Linked DNA regions of Homo sapiens: region 2 is linked to region 1. Evidence: promoter capture Hi-C in 16 types of primary human blood cells and fetal thymus (Javierre and others, 2016). All regions are on one chromosome and are shown on one strand. Each heading gives the region's core, a stretch centred on a gene start or on the middle of the fragment in contact. The rest is flanking DNA. Distances are from core to core; before and after follow the strand shown. Region 1 holds the start of CSF2 (colony stimulating factor 2). Region 2 overlaps RAPGEF6 (Rap guanine nucleotide exchange factor 6).

Region 1 (4,345 bases), core at 1,846-4,345:
GCCTGTGGGGTGGACACGCATAGGAAACTCCTTCCAGAGGGTTTTCTCCTGTCTCTGTAGGAAGGGGGGCCCCAGAGGGGTCATACCACCCATCGTGGTCCCCGCCTCTGCCCTGCCACAGCCCCATCGGAGCCCCTGAGTCAGCATGGCTGGCTATCGGTTGACACTGTTTAAAATACAGTGCAATCTAGGAATGCCTGCCTGTGTCATGGCCTCAGCCCTGATGTCATCTTTCCATGAGAAAGATGTGTGGCTGCCCACAAACCTCATCACCAAACCCATGGATTTCTGTCCTGTTTGTGCTGACTTGGGCACCTGCAGGCCACCACTGCCGAAATGGATTTCTTATTATGACTCTTGCTTTCCTCCTTTCCTTCCCTCCTAGGCCCTTGGCCACTGGCCTGTTACTTGCCCATCTGTTATGTCCCAGCCCTTAAACACAGCTTTGCTGGCCCTCAGCTCTTCTTCCTGAATAACTTCCGTGGCCTCAGCTACCACACAGACATGTACCGCTGCCAGATCTGTCTCCTGTACATGCAGACTCTGAAACTCCAAAACTTCCCGTGGGCCTCACGCTCTGAAGATCTGCTCCTTTGTCCCCTGGGTCCTCACCTTAGCCATGTGGACAGTGATTCTAACTCCTCTTACTCACATTCAAAGCACACTTTGGTGGGGGGGGAGGGGGGTGAGTAGACTAATCTTGCTCCTCCATGGATGGGGTTAAAAAGTCCTTGGAGGCAGGACCCTGACCGTTTTTGTCATCCTTATGTCCCTTTTCCCTGCTGGGAACCTAGTAGATGCTCAAAAAATAATGAATGACTGAGTGACTTCACTATAGCACCAAGTCCTGTTGAGATTCTACCTCCTCAATCTCTCTGGAGTCTGCCTGCTGTTCCTTATACCCATTCCTAAAACCCCAGGGCTCCCTGTGCCCAGAACATTCTCCCCTGTCCTCTCCTGCCCCTCTCCTTCCAACCCAACGTACCCACCTGACTTCTAGCCTTTCAGCCTGGGCTTGCAGGCAGGATCTCTAGTGAAGCTCTCTGGTCCCCTTGGATCCCCAAGCTAGAGAAGGTGGCCCTCTGGGATCCCTCAGCTCTGGACTTCCCCCTGCCGAGTCAAGGTCACACCATGGGAGGGTCCATTGCAGTCTGTTTCCTACCAGACTGGGAGCCTCAAGGGCCAAATGTGAGGGCCAGTGGGAGGGTCCCGTTTACCTCCCCAGAACAGGTCCTGGTGTGGATTGGAAAGACTTGTTGACTGACTGTCTGAGCTATGACAACTCATTTCTAGGAGGAAAGTGACCTTCTCTCCCAGATGGGTCATACAGGCTCTCTGCCTCCCTGGCCATCAGCTGAACCACTATCTATGGCTCCCTTCCCTGCCCTCCAGCCTCCAGGGTGCTATCCAACACATGTGATATCTACATGTAGTATCCATGTCCTCATCTCTCCCCCGAGAGCTCCCTGGAAAGAGCTGAGCCAAGGCCTTGCAAAAAAGGTGGAGAAAGGGCCAGGGCCTGGACATTTCATGTTCCCACCCCAGCCTGGCCACTAGGAGTGTTCTACGCAGGCTCAGATGGATGGGGCTGGCCTCACAGTGGGGTCTGGAGGACTAAGGTTTGGTTTCTCTATGCAAGGTCAGAAAAACTCCCACAGTACAGGGAAACTGGCCAGGGCTGCAGACTCAGACCACAGTGCTAAAGCCATGAACTCCACCTGCTCTCTGAAGGCTCGCCAACCTGAGTCCAGCAGAATGTTCTCGCTTGTGTCCAACCCCACTGGTTTAGGCTGAATCAGCCTCTAGGGCCCAGAGGCACTGCACCTGGAGTAGGGAGCTTCTCCAGTATCAGAGTCACCTTCAGAGGCCTGGAGCCTTTCATAAAGCAGGTAAGAGGACTCAATAGATGCATCTGCATGGAAAACATCCTCCCCTCTACCAGGCACCTGTATGTACAACCAATCACAGCAGCACACATACACCCAGAAATGGGCACGTGTGGGCCCACACCCCTTTAGCTATGAAACCCAGGCATGGGGCAGCTTGAGCCAGATACCTTGTGCAAACACAAACTCGTGCTGTCTTCTCTGAACTCCATTGTGAAAATCAAACACTTGTCAGCCCCTCAAGAGCCTTTAGATTTCCTACTTCCACACTTCCACAGAAAGGCCTCTGGAGTTGGGGGATGCTGGGGTTATGTAGGAAATTAAGCCTGGAGGGCCTTGCTGGGGAAGCCATTGTCCCTGTACCTGAGATGGATGCAGCCACAGCCCTGGAGCCAGCCTGAAGCTCCTGGTGTCTTCTGGGGGCTACATATAGGAGTGTAGTCCGAACCTCAGAGGGGCAAACCTGCTCTGCAGAGGGAATCAAGGTTCACATAACCAGAGAGGGGAGTCACTCAGGAAGGTGGCTCCAGAGCCAAGAGTCAGACTCTGGGTCCCGACTTGACCCAGCCACACCCCCTCTGAAGCTTGCTGAGAGTGGCTGCAGTCTCGCTGCTGGATGTGCACATGGTGGTCATTCCCTCTGCTCACAGGGGCAGGGGTCCCCCCTTACTGGACTGAGGTTGCCCCCTGCTCCAGGTCCTGGGTGGGAGCCCATGTGAACTGTCAGTGGGGCAGGTCTGTGAGAGCTCCCCTCACACTCAAGTCTCTCACAGTGGCCAGAGAAGAGGAAGGCTGGAGTCAGAATGAGGCACCAGGGCGGGCATAGCCTGCCCAAAGGCCCCTGGGATTACAGGCAGGATGGGGAGCCCTATCTAAGTGTCTCCCACGCCCCACCCCAGCCATTCCAGGCCAGGAAGTCCAAACTGTGCCCCTCAGAGGGAGGGGGCAGCCTCAGGCCCATTCAGACTGCCCAGGGAGGGCTGGAGAGCCCTCAGGAAGGCGGGTGGGTGGGCTGTCGGTTCTTGGAAAGGTTCATTAATGAAAACCCCCAAGCCTGACCACCTAGGGAAAAGGCTCACCGTTCCCATGTGTGGCTGATAAGGGCCAGGAGATTCCACAGTTCAGGTAGTTCCCCCGCCTCCCTGGCATTTTGTGGTCACCATTAATCATTTCCTCTGTGTATTTAAGAGCTCTTTTGCCAGTGAGCCCAGTACACAGAGAGAAAGGCTAAAGTTCTCTGGAGGATGTGGCTGCAGAGCCTGCTGCTCTTGGGCACTGTGGCCTGCAGCATCTCTGCACCCGCCCGCTCGCCCAGCCCCAGCACGCAGCCCTGGGAGCATGTGAATGCCATCCAGGAGGCCCGGCGTCTCCTGAACCTGAGTAGAGACACTGCTGCTGAGATGGTAAGTGAGAGAATGTGGGCCTGTGCCTAGGCCACCCAGCTGGCCCCTGACTGGCCACGCCTGTCAGCTTGATAACATGACATTTTCCTTTTCTACAGAATGAAACAGTAGAAGTCATCTCAGAAATGTTTGACCTCCAGGTAAGATGCTTCTCTCTGACATAGCTTTCCAGAAGCCCCTGCCCTGGGGTGGAGGTGGGGACTCCATTTTAGATGGCACCACACAGGGTTGTCCACTTTCTCTCCAGTCAGCTGGCTGCAGGAGGAGGGGGTAGCAACTGGGTGCTCAAGAGGCTGCTGGCCGTGCCCCTATGGCAGTCACATGAGCTCCTTTATCAGCTGAGCGGCCATGGGCAGACCTAGCATTCAATGGCCAGGAGTCACCAGGGGACAGGTGGTAAAGTGGGGGTCACTTCATGAGACAGGAGCTGTGGGTTTGGGGCGCTCACTGTGCCCCGAGACCAAGTCCTGTTGAGACAGTGCTGACTACAGAGAGGCACAGAGGGGTTTCAGGAACAACCCTTGCCCACCCAGCAGGTCCAGGTGAGGCCCCACCCCCCTCTCCCTGAATGATGGGGTGAGAGTCACCTCCTTCCCTAAGGCTGGGCTCCTCTCCAGGTGCCGCTGAGGGTGGCCTGGGCGGGGCAGTGAGAAGGGCAGGTTCGTGCCTGCCATGGACAGGGCAGGGTCTATGACTGGACCCAGCCTGTGCCCCTCCCAAGCCCTACTCCTGGGGGCTGGGGGCAGCAGCAAAAAGGAGTGGTGGAGAGTTCTTGTACCACTGTGGGCACTTGGCCACTGCTCACCGACGAACGACATTTTCCACAGGAGCCGACCTGCCTACAGACCCGCCTGGAGCTGTACAAGCAGGGCCTGCGGGGCAGCCTCACCAAGCTCAAGGGCCCCTTGACCATGATGGCCAGCCACTACAAGCAGCACTGCCCTCCAACCCCGGTGAGTGCCTACGGCAGGGCCTCCAGCAGGAATGTCTTAATCTAGGGGGTGGGGTCGACATGGGGAGAGATCTATGGCTGTGGCTGTTCAGGACCCCAGGGGG
Region 2 (4,324 bases), core at 952-3,451, 510 kb before region 1:
GCGCACACCTGTAATCCCAGCTACCTGGGAGGCTGAGGCAGGAGAATCACTTAAGTCTGGGAGACAGAGGTTGCAGTGAGCTGAGATTATGCCACTGCACCCCAGCCTAGACGAGAGAGCAAAACTCCATCACAAAATGAAAATAAAAATAAAAATAAAAATAAAAATCTCCCACTGTGATTGTGGGTTTGTCTAGTTCTGATTTTACTAAGGACAATTTTTGTTTTATGTATTTTGAAGGCATGTAAAGCTTCAGGATTGTGTAACCTTGATACAATTAACCTTTTATCACTATACAGTACCATTCTTACATTAAATAATGCTTCTTGCCTAAAAGTATACTTTGGGCCAGGCATGGTGGCTCACACCTGTAAGTCCAACACTTGGGAGGTTGAGGTGGGAGGATTGTTTGAGGTCAAGAGTTCGAGATCAGCCTGTGAAACATAGCAAGGCTGTCTCTACAAAAACAATAACAACAACAACAACAACAACAAATTAGCTGGGTATGGTGGGGTGCATCTGTAGTCCCAGCTACTTGAGAGACTGAGGAGAGAGGCTCACTTGAGCCCAGGAGTCCAAGGCTGCGCTGAGCTATCGCACCACCGCACACTCTACTCTCGGTAAGCCCCTTTTCTTTAAGAAAAAAAGAAAAAAAAAAAAGAAAAAAAAAAGTTAAAACAAGGAGATTACTTTACAATGTGTCAGATTAAGATGACTAACTTATCAGGTGATCAAGAATGTGTTCAGTAACAGACACTTCCAATCACCAGTGGAGTTAATCAAATCTGTACAAATAGACAAAACCATTTGACCAGGCATTTTTAACAATTCTGAAAAATTTCACCTATTTTGGATTGTTTTCTCCTATAACTCATAAAGCATTTAAAATTATACCAATCATCAATAAATTTAAATTTTTGAAATTTAAAAATTACCAGCCATAAATACATATACTTGATGTGACTTTTTATTTTATATACTTGTTTTTCTGAAATACTGAAGAATAAATTGGAGATATAATGCTTCTTGACCCCAAAATATGTCAACATGTAACTGCTAACAATAAGGACTTTGTCTTACAGAACCACAGTATGGTTATCAAACTCAGGGAATTTGATATTATCCAATCTGTAGTGCATATTTTGAATTCATCAATTGCACCAACAATGTCATTTATAGCTATGCCTATGATTTCTCCTTTTCTTCCTCCTCATATGAAAATATTACATAAAGTATGTAAAACAAGCACTAAAACAGAATGTATAACACTGAAGTAAAAGCAGTATTTCTTTTGCATATAGTATGAGAAATACAAAATACAACTAAAAAGTCAGAAAATCAATACTGCCTGGGCAGTTTTCTTGCCATGTTCCTCAATACATACATTAAAAAGAAAGAATTCTGAGGCTCTAATAGGAATCCCATATATTCAGTGCTTAAAGAAAATAAATTTGAAACAATACATACTCCATCCTTGAAAAAACTTGAATTCAAGAAACATTCACTGAATACTTACTATGCAGGCAGTACTCTGCGATACTCTCGGAGACACAAGTGGAATAAGACATAATCTTTGCCCTGTAAGAGCTTAAAATCCAGTTGCTCACATAAAATTAGGGATAGTGAGTTCATGGTTATACAGATGATCCAGTTTAAGAAAGAGAAAACAAACTATTTGAAGGTATCAATCTGACTATAGCACCATGAAATGGAAAAGTAGTTTGGTTTTGAGCCCTTACATTAAAATGCTTCATTAAGAATTCAATTTCTCTTCTTGACAGTTCAAATCTAATCAGATGACATGGTCATCTACATGAGATCCTAGTAGGACAATGAGTCCACTCGGTATATGCTGTTTTCTAGTCAGGTCATCTTAGAACAACGTAAAAAGCAAGCTGTGTTCTTGATTCTTCTAATACTTAAAAAAAAAAATTCTAAAGTTACATCAACTACTTAGCTCTTTTAAGAAAAAATAAAGAATTATTCCTTAAATACACTCTTAAATAAAAACTTATCTTAAATAATTAAAAAGTGAAAATACTAACACCATTTCTTACTTGGATCTAATTGTATGTCTTTTTACTTTTCTCTACTTCATTCTCTCTAGTCTAGGGCACAGACTATAGAATTCAAAGTTTATTGAAAAAGTAAAATTGAATGGGAAAGAAGAAATCACCTGAGGCTGGGCGCAGTGACCCACGCCTGTAATCTCAGCACTTTGGGAGGCCAAGGCAGATGGATCACCTGAGGTCAGGAGTTCGAGACCAGCCTGGCCAACATGGTGAAACCCCCATGGCTGCTAAAAAATAGAAAAACTAGCTGGGAATGGTGCCAGGTGCCTGTAATCCCAGCTACTCAGGAGGCTAGGGCAGGAAAACTGCTTAAACCTAGGAGGCGGAGGTTGCAGTGAGCCAAGACTGCACCATTGCACTCCAGCCTGGGCACCAAGAATGAAACTCTGTCTCAAAAAAAAAAAAAAAAAAAAAAATCACTTGAAAACTCATGGTCCCCTTTTAAAACTTCTAATTTTCTGGTAGAAGGGGGTAAAAAATACCAAATCTGCAAATTATATGTAAGTGTATCATGTTTCACACTCTCTTGAGGATCAAAAAAAGTCTGAAGAGACAGAAATAGATAAACCTGGTAGATAGTTCTGATGCTACTTGATGAAATCTCTAAAAGGTCATAGTAATAAAACCTCCTTAAGTGTTTAAAGCCTACTACATTTAAAGTTAAAACTGAAGCATATCAAAAACAATTCAGCATTCTTTAAAGTTCTTACCACAATCATTTCTGAAGGCTCTAATACAAGACAATCACATCCTCTTTTTCCTCCAAACTGCTTACCAAAACTATAAAAACAGAAAAACAATTTCTTTAGCAAAGGTTATTAATAAAATATATCAATATAGGAAAAGAAAACAAACAAACAACAAAAAAGCCCTGAGATATTATCCAAGAAATTCTGATCCTGTCACAATATTTATGTTAAGATTTTCTAAAAAAGAAAGAAAAAAAAAAACCTTTCTCTTAATTGTCCAGATATAACTGATCTCAATACTATATGAAAATTCTTTTTAAACTTCTGCCTTTAACTAGTCCCTAAAATTAATTATAAAAGATAACTGTCTAATCTCAAATTTCTAACATCTGTCAATATACGTTGCACAAAGAAAAAAATACACTTAGTAAAAATCTAATAAAAGTGATAACCTGATTAGGCAATTTAATAAAAGTAAATTATTATAATCTTTTGGGAGCAGTGTTAAGACAACAGATACTAAAAATAAAAAAACTTAAAAAATATTCACACTTGAGTAGTCTCTTGGTATCCAACTGGGATTGGTTCCAGAATCCCCAAGGATACAAAAATCTACCAGTGCTCAAGCGCCTAACATAAAATGATGTAGCATTTGCATATAACCTATGTGCATCCTTCCATATGCTTTAAATCAACTTGAGATTTTTAATAATACCTAATACACGGGAAATGCTACATAAATAGTTGTTATGCTTTATTGCTTAGGGAATAATGACAAGTAAAACAAGTCTATATATGCTTAGTAGAGATGCAACCATCCATTTTTTTTTCCAGGATCAGCAGTTGCTTGAATTAATGGATGTGAAACCCACGGATATGAAGTGCCAACTATATATAAAGAAATGTAGTTAGATATAAAGATGACTTCTTAAAAGAAAGTGTTGGAGTCACAGCTCTTTGGAAAAAACTAAAGCTGGACCAGTACTAAAAGACAGTATTTTTATATTCTTGGTCTCAGAAAGATTTCTCAGCATATCAAAAAGAAAGCAACCACAGAGAAAAAGATAGGTTTCCATTTTAAAAGATAACCTGAATTTTTTTTAATGAAGAATAAAAAAAAGCCCTGTCAACTATACTAAGACACAAATGACTTACATATGAAATATACAGAGCTCACTCAAAATAATGATAAAGCAACCAAAAGTATTATCATATATGAAAATTTAGTGCCAGTGTCAGTTAGTAAATAAAACATATAAATATTACTCCAAAATAACCAAATGGAAAAAAAACATTAATCATTCAAACAAAACAAAATACCAAAAAACATCTAATAAATAAATAAGTCATTTATAAAGAAAATTATACAACTTCATTGATGGGCTAGAAACAAAGCTTAAAGTAACATAGCTATACTTTTATGGGAAGGTTAAATATTTAAAAATGTCAATTTCCCAAAGTATAAGGTTCTATACAAATAACAGTTAATAACAAAATTCTAATCAAAATCCAAACAAAATAACTTTTGAACATAACCAAAAAATCACTTATGTTTTTTCTTCG

What was found. The method cuts DNA at HindIII sites, captures the fragments that hold promoters and counts their contacts. A CHiCAGO score of 5 or more calls a contact.
Region 2: a fragment that was not itself captured here is called in contact with the fragment with the promoter of CSF2 in region 1 in 1 of 17 cell types (neutrophils); the score reaches 6.8 in neutrophils.

The regions. Positions count from the first base shown.
Region 1 is chr5:132,070,694-132,075,038 of GRCh38, forward strand. CSF2 (colony stimulating factor 2) reads left to right here and starts at 3,096. Exons shown (of 4, transcript NM_000758.4): 1 at 3,096-3,289; 2 at 3,388-3,429; 3 at 4,117-4,242. The coding sequence starts at 3,131. The HindIII fragment of the contact is 5,468 bases long and covers 2,469-4,345 here.
Region 2 is chr5:131,559,196-131,563,519 of GRCh38, forward strand. It overlaps RAPGEF6 (Rap guanine nucleotide exchange factor 6), which reads right to left. Exons shown (of 28, transcript NM_016340.6): 5 at 2,783-2,852. Among named protein-coding and RNA genes, the nearest start is that of RAPGEF6, 74 kb to the right of the region's middle. The HindIII fragment of the contact is 3,906 bases long and covers 249-4,154 here.